Regions from separate parts of the Homo sapiens genome. Here regions 1, 2 and 3 are each linked to region 4. Evidence: promoter capture Hi-C in 16 types of primary human blood cells and fetal thymus (Javierre and others, 2016). All regions are on one chromosome and are shown on one strand. The core of a region is centred on a gene start or on the middle of the fragment in contact, and the rest is flanking DNA. Distances in the headings are between cores, read along the strand shown. Region 1 has its middle 2.0 kb from the start of OAF. Region 2 has its middle 5.7 kb from the start of SIDT2. Region 3 holds the start of PAFAH1B2 (platelet activating factor acetylhydrolase 1b catalytic subunit 2). Region 4 holds the start of DPAGT1 (dolichyl-phosphate N-acetylglucosaminephosphotransferase 1).

Evidence for each region. The method cuts DNA at HindIII sites, captures the fragments that hold promoters and counts their contacts. A CHiCAGO score of 5 or more calls a contact.
Region 1: a fragment that was not itself captured here is called in contact with the fragment with the promoter of DPAGT1 in region 4 in 1 of 17 cell types (endothelial precursors); the score reaches 5.1 in endothelial precursors.
Region 2: a contact is called between a fragment that was not itself captured here and the fragment with the promoter of DPAGT1 in region 4, in 1 of 17 cell types (monocytes). The highest score is 5.3, in monocytes.
Region 3: a contact is called between the fragment with the promoter of PAFAH1B2 here and the fragment with the promoter of DPAGT1 in region 4, in 1 of 17 cell types (monocytes). The highest score is 9.2, in monocytes.

Annotation. Positions count from the first base shown.
Region 1 is chr11:120,207,401-120,210,754 of GRCh38, forward strand. No RefSeq gene overlaps it. Among named protein-coding and RNA genes, the nearest start is that of OAF, 2.0 kb to the right of the region's middle. RefSeq lists an enhancer at 2,385-2,926 and a silencer at 3,260-3,354. The HindIII fragment of the contact is 2,239 bases long and covers 931-3,169 here.
Region 2 is chr11:117,171,357-117,174,821 of GRCh38, forward strand. It overlaps a transcript of PAFAH1B2 not described here. Among named protein-coding and RNA genes, the nearest start is that of SIDT2, 5.7 kb to the right of the region's middle. The HindIII fragment of the contact is 906 bases long and covers 1,681-2,586 here.
Region 3 is chr11:117,142,545-117,145,888 of GRCh38, forward strand. It overlaps PAFAH1B2 (platelet activating factor acetylhydrolase 1b catalytic subunit 2), which reads left to right and starts at 1,743. Exons shown (of 6, transcript NM_002572.4): 1 at 1,743-1,874. RefSeq lists a silencer at 1,953-2,272 and an enhancer at 2,823-3,002. The HindIII fragment of the contact is 2,379 bases long and covers 1,104-3,344 here.
Region 4 is chr11:119,100,603-119,104,239 of GRCh38, forward strand. DPAGT1 (dolichyl-phosphate N-acetylglucosaminephosphotransferase 1) reads right to left here and starts at 1,251. Exons shown (of 9, transcript NM_001382.4): 1 at 893-1,251; 2 at 416-536; 3 at 28-241. The coding sequence starts at 1,053. It also overlaps a transcript of C2CD2L not described here. RefSeq lists enhancers at 379-1,092, 904-2,103, 1,286-1,595, 1,807-2,519. The HindIII fragment of the contact is 9,998 bases long and covers 1-1,619 here.

The DNA.
Region 1 (3,354 bases), core at 800-3,299, 1.1 Mb after region 4:
CCATGTTGGCCAGGCTGGTCTCGAACTACTGACCTCAGGTGATCCACCCGCCTCGGCATCCCAAAGTGTTGGGATTACAGGTGTGAGCCACCGCGCCCAGCCAAAAAAATGTTTCTGAAAGAATATGTGTACATGCACGCGTATACATGTGGCAGGGGGTGAGAGGGAGAGACTTGTATAATCAGAGATTTAGTATGTGATACAATGGGAAAGAATAAACAGAATTAAAGGATAACAGCCACCATTTATTGGATCTGTACTATATGCCAAACATGTTGCGAAATATTTTATGCACAATGTTTCATTTAATTTTCAAAGCAACCCAGTGAGGGAGAAACGTATGCGCCCATTTTACAGTTGAAGAAACAGGCTCACTGACGCACAGCTCATGACTGGGGCCGAGCTCCAGGACTGAGATCCTGATGCCCATTTTCTGAACCACTACTGGCTACTGCTTTCCAAGGGCTAGAGATGAGAAAAAAAAGGAAATTGGTTTATGGTGTGGCAGAGGTCTTGCGATGAGACATGAAGAACTCTCTGACAATGAGGGCTGTTTGGTTGTAGTCGGAGTAATTAGGCTTGTTAGAGCTCTTCCTCTGACGGCCTTTACATTTAAGATGAATGGATGCTTCTATGCCCGGATGGTTTGAGGGAAACGCTGTCTGTTCCCAGCACGGGGCTGGCCTGTTTGAACTAGCTGACGGCTTCACTGGGGATACAGGATTGCCACACGCGAAACCGTTAGATAACAGGAGAAGATAGCGCAGGATGTGAGCCCCGAGTGGGACTGGCAGAAAGTGAGGGCTACCGACAGGCAGAGGCTACTGTGGTTCAAAGCAAGGGCTTTGTGGTCAGGCGGGCAGACTTGTGTTTGAGTCCCGGCTGGCTCTACTGCTTTTGTGACCTTGGGTATGTTGCCTAACCTCTCTAAGCTTTGGTTTCCTAGTCAGTAAAAAGAGCCTAAGAATAGAACCTACTTTGGAGGGATGCCATGAAAATTAAATAAGATGATCCATGTAAAATGCTTGGCACAGAACCTGGACATAATCAAAATACAATGGGGGAGGAGCTGCTATAATAATGACTATTGTTGGAGTCCAGAGGCCGGAGACAGTGGCACAGAACAGAGGGCTAGGTCGGTGGGGAGTCGAGAAAGTCTTCCTGGGAAACCTGAGTTTTGTCCTGGAGCTTGAAGAGGTGGTCAGGTGAAATCAATAGCAAGGCATAGAGATGTAGGTAGGCAGGGCTTATGTAATGGAGTGAGATTTCAAATGCCCTATCACTTTCAAAGAAAAATCTGGTTTGATCTGTGGTTGAAGTAGAGAAGGAAGTTGACTATGGGGAAGAGGTGGGAAAGAGATGAGGTCTTCCATCCTTGTTTCCAAACCCAAAATGTGAACAGAGACAAACCTCAGGGACCTAAACAAGAAATCTGACATCCAGGGCTTCTTTGCCCACTTCTGGGCTGTTGTGGGAGGAGAAGGGGTAAGAGCCTGGGAAATGGCTGAGGGCAGAGCTGGTGGCGGATGGGGACAGGACCTGAAACAAGGGAAGTTAGGAAATGTGGGCGAGGCCCTTAATGACTGTGTGGGCTGACTCATGTGGGAGACCTAGCTTCAAGGCCGCATGGAGATCCAGCATCCTGTCAGGCGGGAGGCCAATTTCAAGACCCTGGGCATCTCTAGTCTAAACGGTTGCCAGCTAAGAGTGGGAGTCCTTAGGGGAGCAATCCTTGTGCTAATCCAATTATTCCCTAACAGCCTGCCTTATCTCCCGGATGTGAAGATGAACTCCTTAGGAGCCAGGTTCTCCAGGAAGGATGCTGCTTGTTTCAGATGCTCTATGTTTTTGTTTTGTTTTGTTTTGTTTTGTTTTGTAGAGACGGAGTCTTCCTCTGTCACCCAGGCTGGAGTGCAGTGGCGCAATTTTGGCTCGCTGCAACTTCTGCCTCCTGGGTTCAAGCAATTCTCCTACCCCAGCCTCCCGAGTAGCTGGGATTACAGGCGCACGCCGCCACACCCAGCTAATTTCTTTTGTATTTTAGTAGAGACGGGATTTCACCTTGTTGCCCAGGTTGGTCTCGAACTCCTGAGCTCAGGCAATCCGCCCGCCTCGGCCTCCCAAAGTGCTAGGATTACAGGCATGAGCCACCGCGTCTGGCCCAGACGCTCTATGCTTAAACATCTGCCAAATACCTGCTGTCAACCACTTATGTCGAGCATCATGTGGGCCTTGTCAAAAATGCTAATCCTCAGTTCTTTTCCCTAGAATCTGATTCCATGGGTTTAGGGATTCGGGAATCTATTTTCTAACAAGCATCCAGGTGATTCTTCAGGAAAGGCAAATTTGGAAAAGGCTGACTTGGTAGTCTCTTAAATTCCCTTCAGTCCTAAATCTAGGCAGCAGAGAGCGGGTAGCGGGAAGGGCCCCTGGATGATAGCAAGAGGCCGATTCTAGCCGGACCCTGCAGTTCACATGGCCCTGTGCTGGGGAAGCCCTAGAAGGGAAGGAGGCTGCAGAGAAGGGAGTTTTCACCCATCAGTAATCAAGGTCCCAACAGAAGTGAAAATGGAAGTCAGGGAACAATTGGTTTTGAGCATCTTCGTGGGGCTTTTTCCCTTGCCTGGGACTGGCAGGACAGTGTAGGTCTGAGCAGCTTCCACGATACACACGGGGACACTTAAGCCCAAAGAATTTTTAAAACGTGCCTAAATTCCACAACTAATCAGAGGAGGCAGCAATCCAGATCTCCTGGTCTTCACCCTTCTTATTGTTGGGGTGCACCGCAGGGCACGCATGTTTCCTTGTGGCTTGTGGGAAAGCCACTGTCGTGGAGCGCCAGCGTCCCGAGTCCCTGGAAATTCTCCCAAGTGACCTGGAATCCAACATTTCCCTGGATTTTCATAGTCTATAATAGAGAGAAAGAACCGGGTCTGCGGTGGTGGGCAGGACTGAGGAAAGGCCGTGAATGCGGGAAGCACGGGAGGCAGGACTGAAAAGGAAAGAGGCACAGGGGCTCACAAAACCTGAGGGCCGCGTCCCAGTGGGTGACCTGACCCATCAAGGTCTAACACCTGGCCGTGGCAAAGCTGGGCGAGAACCCCCGATCCACCCTCCCAGTGTGGGGCAGGGAAAAGGCAGAGTGCAAAGCGAGGTCTGATTTTGCAGAAGCTTTTTAGAAATTCGCTGTCAGAGAAACTGAAAGACCAAACAAAACCCCTAAAAATCCAAGCCCGATTATTTCATCCACGTGGCACAAAAGCAAGCCAAAAAAAAAAAAGCGGGGGGGGGGGGTGGCGGTGCAGGGCGGGGGAAGAGTCACCCGTCCTGCCCCTGCTGGAAGGAAGGGATTTG
Region 2 (3,465 bases), core at 884-3,383, 1.9 Mb before region 4:
ACTGGGTGAATGTCATCAGTCAGTATAATACAGTGTTATTGGCCGGGCTCACGCCTGTAATCCCAGCTACTCAGGAGGCTGAGGTGGGAGAATTGCTTGAACCCAGGAGGCGGAGGTTACCGTGAGACGAGATTGCGCCATTGCACTCCAGCCTGGGCAACAGAGCGAGACTCTTGTCTCGGAAAAAAAAAAAAATACAGTGTTACTACAGCATAGAGGACATGAACCTTGAGCACGGACTCATTTATCACCCTTACGTCCCCAGGGTAAAGCAGCCGCCTCCAAATACTCTATCTCAGAGATAGTGAGACTAGAACAAGGGTCGGTTAACTGGTCGATCGGGACCTATCCTGATGACACACCAGCAACTACCAGGCCAGCAATATTACAGTGAGTTGGTATGCCGGTATGATGTTCCTTGGCAGCTAAAAGTTTCTGTGATCTTTGTATCATTTGCTTTATCACTGTTCACCTCAGTGGTATACTGTTGGATTAAAATGATTTGCTGCTTTAGGAGGAAAAATTTGGAGGTAAATTGAGACATTTTGTTTTTCTAGCTGCCCTTCCCCCCTCCCCAGTATCTCATCACACCAAGTTCCTCTCCACCCACACTCCTGGAGGCCTTTGTCAGCTGCTTGCAGGCCACACAGCAGCAGTGAAAGCAGCCTGGATCTTGAAGCTTTGCTTTACTGTATGTGGATTACCCCATGTGAACCTCTTAAATGGCCCAGAACAAGTGGAAGTGGTAGTAATGTGGAAGAAAGAAAAAGCTCCCTCACCAGCATCTGTACTTGAGGGGAAAACTGGACAAACCAACATGAGAATCTGTCCCCTAATTTATTTTCCAGCCATGGCAGAGATGAAATCTTAACCCAATGACATGTTTTTACATAGCTATAAAGCAAAGATCTTCAATGTTTTGCTAAACATATAATATTTGTGGCCTGATATTATGCTATGCCTTTTGCCTACTTGCTGGTTCATTCTAGCTTTATATATATATATATATATATATATATATATATATATATATATATATATATATATATTTTTTTTTTTTTTTTTTTTTTTTTACATTCTGGTCAAGCTTTGGCAGTATGCTTATAGTGGATTCATAACACATCAGTATACTGCAGCTTGCTTGTCAGCCACTGAGTTAAAAGATCAAGTCCAAGCCATTAAATGTAACATCTAACAGTCTCCATGACCTGGCCTCTTTAATTTGTAACCTTCCACCCTTTACTTTGAACTTTTCTGCCAAGAGCACTGAGCTTCCTTTATGTTTTTGCCCATAGTTGGGAGCCCCCTATCTGGAATATGCTCTTACCCCTTTGCTGGTCTAGCTCCTACTCTATTTTTATTTTTTGGAAACAGTCTCGCTTTGTTGCCCAGGCTGGAGTGCAGTGGTGCAATCTTGGTTTACTGCAATCTCTGCCTCCTGGATTCATGTAGTTCATGTGCCTCAGCCTACTGAGTAGCTGGAATTACAGGCGTGTACCACCACGCCTGGCTAGTTTTTGTGTTTTTAGTAGAGACAGGGTTCGCCATGTTTACCAGGCTGGTCTCGAATTCCTGGCCTCAGGCAATCGGCCCGCCTTAGCCTCCCAAAGTTCTGGGATAACAGGCATGAGCCACCGCGGACCCAGCCGCCTGTCTTCTGATTTCTAAGCCAAAGACCCAAGCTTTCTTGAAATAAGAGAGCTGGCTCATTTTTATCGGTGATCTTTGGAGGCAGAGATTTGAGACGGTCAAGTATTTATCTGCTTGTTTTCTGCAACCTGATGACCAGCCTTGTTTCCTGGAAAGCTCTGATGTTGGTTTCATCACGTGGCCAGAGGGAACCAGATGCAGGGCCTGAGTATATCACAGATATTTCCCAGTGTGAATGGTGAAAGCCCAGTTTTAGGAAATGGAAAGTGACTGACCTATCTCTAGGAGAAAGTACTGCCCACTTGGTCAGAGCTTATCTCGTTTGTCTCTCTTCCTGTTCTTTAGACAGTAGGATGGTGAATGCAGGGAAGCCTAGCTCCACTGTGAGTACTTAGGACAGTAGAGACCAAGTCCAGACAAGGCTCCCAAAAGGCTCAGAAAGCTCAAGTGGTTTGCCTAAAGCACACAATGCAGGGATTTCACTGTAGAACTTTTTTTTTCTTTTTTCTTTTTCTTTGAATGGATGAGAGGTTTTTATGTTGCCCAGGTTGGCCTCAAACACGTAGCCTCGCCTCCTTATGTGCCAGGGCAACAGGCCTGAGCCACCGCAGCTCCCAGTGACTGTAGAACTTTTTGACATCAAAGTCCGTCCTTTTTCCGTAATACCATGAAGCCATGTGACAGGTTTGAGACCTTCCCCAGTATGGCAGATTAAATCCTGTGTCTTTAACTGATTCCCAATCTAACATGCATCCAGTCTTTGCAGTCCTTGCAGGAAGAGAGATAACCAGACACAAGGGCAGCCCTGGGAAAGAACAGAACTTGTATGATGGAAAGAAGTGCTGAACTCTTGCTGGAGCTGCTTATGTCTGGGACAATTCTTTCTAAGCACCAAATGAAAAAACAGCCCTTTTTATAATCACAGTGAAAACAGAAAGCTTCAGGTTCATTTCCTTCAGAGGGGTTGGTTTTGAATCTTTTTTTTCTGGGTTAAAGTTATACCATTACATGATACTAAAATCTGTTTTGATTCTGTCTCCCACCCATAGGCATGGCTACTCCCTACCTCCCAGGTTCCTAAATAATTTGATTGGATTCAGCTAATCCATTTACTGTGATTCTTACAAAATCCTGCTCGAGTGCAGTCTTCATGTCTTTTGTGTGTGTGTGTGTGTGTGTGTGTGTGTGTGTGTGTGTGTGGCAGTTTCACTCTTGTTGCCCAGGCTGGAGCACAATGGCCTGTGGTCGCACACTGCAACCTCTGCCTCCCAGGTTCAAGTGATTCTCCTGCCTCAGCCTCCCGAGTAGCTGGGATTACAGGCGCCTGCCACCACACCCAGCTAATTTTTGTGTTTTTATCAGAGACGGGGTTTCACCATGTTGGCCAGGCTGGTCTCAAACTCCTGACCTCAGGTGATCCACCCACCTCAGCCTCCCAAAGTACTGGAATTACAGGCGTGAGTCACCGCCCCTGGCCATTTTTTTTTCTTTTTTTTTAGTGGTGTTTCACTCGTTGCCCAGGCATGCAATGGCGTGATCTCAGCTCACCGCAACCTCTGCCTCCCAGGTTCAAGCGATTCTCCTGCCTCAGCCTCCGAAGTAGCCGGGATCATAAGCATGTGCCACCACGCCCGGCTAATTTTGTATTTTTAGTAGAGACAGGGTTTCTCCATGTCTGTCAGGCTGGGCTCGAATTCCTGATCTCAGGTGATCCGTCCACCTTGGCCTCCCAAAGTGCTGGGATTACAGGCGTGAGCCACTGCACCTGACCTAATTTTCTGTATTTTTAGTAGAGACGGGCTTTTACCATGTTGG
Region 3 (3,344 bases), core at 493-2,992, 2.0 Mb before region 4:
ACAAAGGGCTAATATCCAGAATCTACAAAGAACTTAAACAAATTTACAAGAAAAAAAACAAACAACCCCATCAAAAAGTGGGCAAAGGATATGAACAGACACTTCTCAAAAGAAGACATTTATGCAACCAACAGACACATGAAAAAATGCTCATCATCACTGGTCATCAGAGAAATGCAAATCAAAACCACAATGAGATACCATCTCATGCCAGTTAGAATGGCGATCATTAAAAAGTCAGGAAACAACAGATGCTGGAGAGGATGTGGAGAAAGAGGAACACTTTTACACTGTTGGAGGGAGTGTAAATTAATTCAACCATTGTGAAAGACAGTGTGGCGATTCCTCAAGGATCTAGAACTAGAAATACCATTTGACCCAGCCATCCCATTACTGGGTATATACCCAAAGGATTATAAATCATGCTGCTATAAAGATACATGCACACGTATGTTTATTGTGGCACTATTCACAATAGCAAAGACTTGGAACCAACCCAAATGTCCATCAATGATAGACTGGATTAAGAAAATGTGGCACATATACACCACGAAATACTATGCAGCTGTAAAAAGGATGAGTTCATATCCTTTGCAGGGACATGGACGAAACTGGAAACCATCATTCTCAGCAAACTATCACAAGGACAGAAAACCAAACACCGCATGTTCTCATAGGTGGGAATTGAACACTGAGAACACTTGGACAAAGGGCGGGGAACATCACACACGGGGGCCTGTCGGGGACTGCGGGGCTGGGGGAGGGATAGCATTAGGAGAAATACGGAATGTAAATGACGAGTTGATGGGTGCAGCAAACCAACATGGCACACGTATACCTATGTAACAAACCTGCACGTTGTGCACATGTACCCTAGAACTTGAATAAAAAAAAAAAAAAAAAAGAAAAATTACTTGACATATCTTGACATTTTAGGCTCCCAGGATTTTACAGTATTCTTAACAGGTTTTGTCAGCAAAATCAACCCCCACCCCCGCATCAGTTTAAGAGCCCTGGAAGGCTCTGCCTATTCACCAGCATAGAGCTGAGATCCTTAAAGGGCCAGTTCAGGGCACTGCTCCAGCAACCGTTGCGCTGCTATAAGCTTGAGCACATCTCTTGCCCCTCCTCTCTACTTTTATAGATCCTGCATTTATTTAGCATATAATCTTTTCAATATTGACTTTGTATATGTATGTCTTCCCCTAAACTGGATGTATCTTTTAAGGAAAAGCCTGGGGTTCGTCATCCCCCTATGTATCACCTTTACAGGCGGTCACCCAAAATCTCCACATTCATCATAGAAACAGAAATTCCACTAATAAATGTCAGGTACTGCCTCCTTAACCTTGGTCCGCTATTTCCCTCCCACTTTCAGCAGTCTGGTTTATTCCATGGGTGGAAGAGGAAGCCAAGTTGGCTGAGTGTGAAGGGAATGGCGTCAGTGTGACTTCACGCCACATCGTCCCGAATGCCAGCTCCACACTGCGGTGGCACGAACGCAGGATTGAGAGATGCAGCTGGAGTAAAGAGAGAAGCCCATGTCCCTCAGACGCCACACAAAATGGGGGTAACCGCGAGAACAAAGCAGGGTACCCAACGGGGTGTGGCGGGACACCTGGGCGCACGCCGCCAGCGCCCGGGAGAGCGAAGGCGGGGAGAGAGGAACCACGCTGAGGCGTGGCAGGATGGGGGCGGGACTTCCGGAAGCCATTTGGCTGAGTGGCAGGGGAACCGGAAGTGGAGGAGCTGCTGCTGGTGCTGGGGCCGGAGGAGGGACGCGCCGGAGCGGGACCGACGGGACCGAGCGAGCGACCGACGCGCCACCCGCCGACGCCTCAGCCGCTTGGGGCCCGCACGGACCCTCTACTTCAGTGAGTGCATCCAGGGTCGCAGGGAACCGGTGGCTTAGAGGCGGGGGTCGGAAGGGGCTGCGAGGTGTTATTGTGAGAGGCCCGCGACCTCCCCTCCCCCACCCTTGCGGCCCCTCCCCCCACGCCGCCCCATCCACTTGGGGGGGGCCTCGCGAGCGCGCGCCTTCTCTGCGGGCCCAGCGTCGGCTTCCCAGCAGCCGGCGCAGCTAGTTTTCGCTCTGAGAGCCCTTTCCCGATATTCCATACCGAAAGCTGGCGTTTCTCCTCAGCCGCCGGCCGGCGCCTCCACGGCCTTTCCCAGGAGGGTAGCGCGGCGGGCGCCCCGCCCCGCCCTGCCCTGCCCTGCCCTGCCGGGCCCACCCGCGGTAGGCCTTGCGCACCCCAGCTCGCCCCGGCTGGGCGCTGCAGCTCCTGCCCGGGTCTCCGCTGCTGCCTTTTCCCTTTATCACAGGGGTCTAACTTCTCACTCTTCTCTCCCCTCGCGTCTGGTCGGAGGCCAAAACCAGTTACTCCGTTGTGTTTTTACCGAGCACTTTTCCCTCCTCCTTTTGTTGAAAAATTTCAACTCTTTAGAAACTTCTCCGTTGCCTCTTAGGATGTGTTTATTCAAAAGTTGCATAGACCGTCACCACTCGGAAGGGATTATTTCTTGGAAGGCTTTCCAGCCCCCATCTCATCTTAGACATGAATGTGCTCGGAGCGGCTGGTGACCTGCCCAAGGTCAGCCAGCTAGATAAACCTGTCAGCGGAGAGGTTTGGGGGGATGTTTTTTTCCTGGCTCACCGTCCGTTTGCCAGATCCGTGCCTTCTGGTCTACAGGTTTGATTGACCCGTTGCGTGGTGACTCATGCTTCTGCTTTTCATAGCTCGCAGGCCAGCGTTGCTTTTCAGAATTTATACACAAACAAGAACTAACACTCGGAGCTTTCGCCTCTTTGTAGAGCTTACCCGTAGAGAAAGGAAAGACCACCCGGATCCACCCTAGGACCTCATTTTGTACAGCTTGAAATTATGGGAAGGGGTTGGGCCGGGGGTAAAGGTGTGGAGAAAGTGGAAGGAGAAAGTGCTTAATTAAGATTGTCTTTGCCTTGGATGTGCCTTGTGTCTTTGGCTTCTTCTGGGCACATTGTTCTGACATAAAGGTTGCCTCCTTGTGGGGGAGAAGGGGAGGATTAGTTTGTTGGCTTGGGCATTTGATCATAAATTATGGAGGTGCTGGACCGGAGGAACCACCCACCAGCCCACGGAGGCTACCGGGCATTCAGGATAAGGGCCGCCTTCTTCTTCAGAATAACCATACCCACTCCCTCTGAAACAAAGTGGAGAGTCTTAGGTCTGAGTGGAAACTCTAAATCTTTTAATTCTTGGTTCAACTTTCTTCATCTGTTTTCCTGGTTCAGACTAAAACATCTAACTCAGCTGGAGAAGTTATAACGCTTTGTTGTTGGACGTGGTTTCTCATTAAATACA
Region 4 (3,637 bases), core at 1-2,500:
AGGGGCAGCAGTGGTAGGACTACCTACCCAAGTCCAGATGCAGGCCAAGTATCGGGCGGAAGGGCTTGGGCACCACAATGGTCGTGTTGCCAAAGTTGGTGAAATAGACCATGAGGAGAGGTAGTGAGGCAGCTGTAGGTAGCAGCAGCTTATGGCGCCAGCGCAGATTCAGTACATCATCCGCAAAGCCCAGGAAGATCATGCAGCAGATGGCAAGGAGGGCACCTATCAGGGCCACAAACTGGGGGAGGCTCGGGCAGGTCCATGACTCAAGCCTGCTCCCATTCCACCTTTTAAGAATTCCTGTCTTTTCTGATAATTTCTTAGCCCCTCCCCACAAGCCCAAATAACCCCAGTTCTCTCAGGTACCTCCCAGGTCCCAGCCACAGGCAATCACCCCCACGAACCCACTTACTTCATGGTGGGGGAATGCCTTACACTGCTCCTTCACAAAGCAGTTCAGGAAGGGGAAAGGGATGAAGCAGAAGAGGATGATAAGGAAAACAGCACCGCTGATCACTCCCTGGGATTCTGGGCTGTGGCCCAGCAGCAAGGGGGCGAGGGGGAAGAGGAAAGGGGGCGTGGTCACTCACTAGTGCAGGTGTTACAGTAACCCAAAGTGGTCTTCTCATTCCCGGTTTTTTATTCTGGTAAGTGGTGAGGGGGGCGGAGGGAGGAAAGCACCACTGCCAGAGTCCCAGATATACCCAAGGGTCCCTACCCATCCTTTCCCCAATGCGAGTAAGTTCTGCTCATCACCTCTCCGAGTTCCAGGCTGCCTGGGTTAGTTCTGAGTCTTCACGTGTGGTCAAGCACCCCGGTTCCCGCCCCTGCCCTAGCCACTCCTTCCTTAGCCCTTGCCCCCTGCCCGGACCCGTGTGCCGCTGCTCACATCTGCTGTCGGCTGGTTTTGTTGAGGTCCTGACCACAGAGGCGCGCAGCAATGAAGTGGCCCCGGAAGGCCGGGATGAGGGTGACTGTGGCCACAAATCCCAGCAGCGAGACGATCAAATTGATCAGCAGCGGCATGGGCAATTCCGAGAAGGCCCACATGGTGACCGGTCAGGGGCCCGGCTCCGCCGCCTCTTCAGGTAACGGGCAAGCTGAGCAGCAGTCCTGAGGCCTCAGCAGTATGGAGTGGCCGCTCCCCACAGGCAGGCTCTTCCCACACCAATCTGAGCAAAACCCAGCAACTCTGACTTGAGCCGCCGTCGGGACACCGGGGAACCTCTCTAAGGCAACCTATGTTCTGCCCCGCTGCACCCGCCTATCTACTGTTTCCGCCCGGATCTTGTTCGCTGAACAACCATTACTGCGGAAGGCGGCGGCCGCCATTTTTAATATGGGCATTAGAGGGTGGGGATGGAAGTGGAAGAGAAGTGTGATTCCAAATTTCATCCTATGTTCAAGAGTAGAATCACCGAGAGAGTACTGGAAACGCAATTAAAGAAAGGCAGCCAAGAACGGATACTTCCCTAACATTATGTTAAAGATGTACTACCCAGAGCGGAAATGCCAATTGCCCGGTTCCAAGATGAATGCCTCCTTGTACCACGTGTCTGACACCGCTCACATTCCGGTTCCACGTCAGTTTTAGCTCCGTCCGCCTCCATAGGTCAAGCTTAAAGGGCCCGTACCTCTCCCTTAATCTGGGATGCCTCCGGCTCCAGGAAGATGGCTATTGAAAGGCAGGGGGTGGGGAGGAGGGACGAGGGTGTGGAGACGCGCCTGTTTCTTGCAGGAAACCTGTTGCCAACATAGTCGGAAGCCAAGGTAAACACAACTCAGTTCCCGGAAACAAAGCTACGATTTGGAAGGATGGTGTAAATTCTAAAGCGTAGATCCTTGAAAAGCCCCTCCCACTCTGTTTTTCTTGTCCTCGATTCTGGTATTTTTTTCTCAGCATCCCACCCACCTTCTGCCCCAGCTGTAGCAGTTAGTTGCCCGGCAACCCAGCGCAGCACTTCACTGAGGGATTGGGAGTACCCTCAGGTCTTGGATTTAACTCGAGACTTCAGCTTGGCCGTGGATCACTGCATTGTACCTAGCTCCCACAAGGAGGAGATGGAGATTTCCAGGCTGAGGCTCTGGAAAGAGCTGAGGAGGGAGAGGAATCAGACCCACAACTGATTTCCTGTGAGTCTGAGGAACTCCCAGTCAGGTTTCTTCCTGTAGGTCACTGTGCATTTTGCTTGGCCTCCTGCAGGTTGCTGTGCATTTTGCTTGGCCTGTTCCCCTGCAAACAACAATTCACCAGCTTTTTTTTTTTTTTTTTTTTTTTTTTTTTGAGACAGAGTTTCGCTCTTGTTGCCCAGGCTGGAGTGCAATGGCGCGATCTCGGCTCACCGAAACCTCCACCTCCCAGGTTCAAGAGATTCTCCTGCCTCAGCCTCCCGAGTAGCTGGGATTACAGGCAGTAGCTGGAATTACAGGCATGCGCCACCACGCCCGGCTAATTTTGTATTTTTAGTAGAGACGGGATTTCCCTATGTTGGTCAGGCTGGTTTGGGACTCCCGACCTCAGGTGATCTGCCCGCCTTGGCCTCCCAAAATGCTGGGAGTACAGGCGTGAGCCACCACGCCCAGCCAGTTCACCAGCATCTTTATTACCTTTCATTCCCCGACAGGCTCTTAGGCGGCAAATGATTTCCATTTGTCAGAGAGGAAGTCACCACCAGTGAGTTAGGGAAAGGACTCCAATAGCCTAGCGCTTTGTCCACTCTTCCCTCTATGGCATGTTCCAGGAGTCAGGGTCATGTTGACCGTTTTTAAGCCGAAGATAGTTTCTTCTTTCCCTCAAAATCAGATGTGAGGCCGGGCGCAGTGGCTAACGTCTGTAATCCCAGCACTTTGGTAGGCGAAGGTGGGTGGCTCACTTGAGGTCAGGAGTTCGAGACCAGCCTGGCCAACACGGTGAAACCCCGTCTCTACTGAAAATACAAAAATTAGCCGGGTGTGGTGGCACATGCCTGTAATCTCAGCTACTCAGGAGGCTGAGGCAGGAGGATCGCTTGAACCTGGGATGAGGAGGTTGCAGTGAGCCGCGATCATGCCACTGCATCCCAGCCTGGGCAACAGAGGGGAAACTGTCTCAAAACAAACAAACAAACAAACTAAATCAGATGTGAAATGGCTTTTCTACTTGAAAATGGCTCTAATTAACAACAACAAAAACCCAGATATGTATAAAATACATAAATTTTCGTAATTTACTTGCTAGTATTCCACCAGATTTTCAGTACTTATCCCACTGCTATTATTTTTCTGTGTGTGTTGTGTGTATGCACGTGTGCCCCTTTTAAACTAGAAACTCCCGGGAGGCAAGTGTTTTCTCTTCCACAGGGTGTCCCCATGGGGCTAGGAACACAGACATCTGTGTACAAGGAAGGCATCATCACACATAATGAGGCTGAGGCTGAAAGGAGGACTGAGGGCAATAGGTGCATATGGAGGGAGCAATTAGTTGTGACCAGAGTAAGTGGTCTTGAGGAAGAGAAGTATCATTTCAGTAGATTATAAGAGTAGAAGGACCTTTCACAGGCAGCGACAGTGAGACACCAGAAGCTGGTGGAAAGGAGGAGCTTGTGGGATCCCAGAGGAGGCAGCATTCAGTTATCTTGTTGATGACGAGTATACT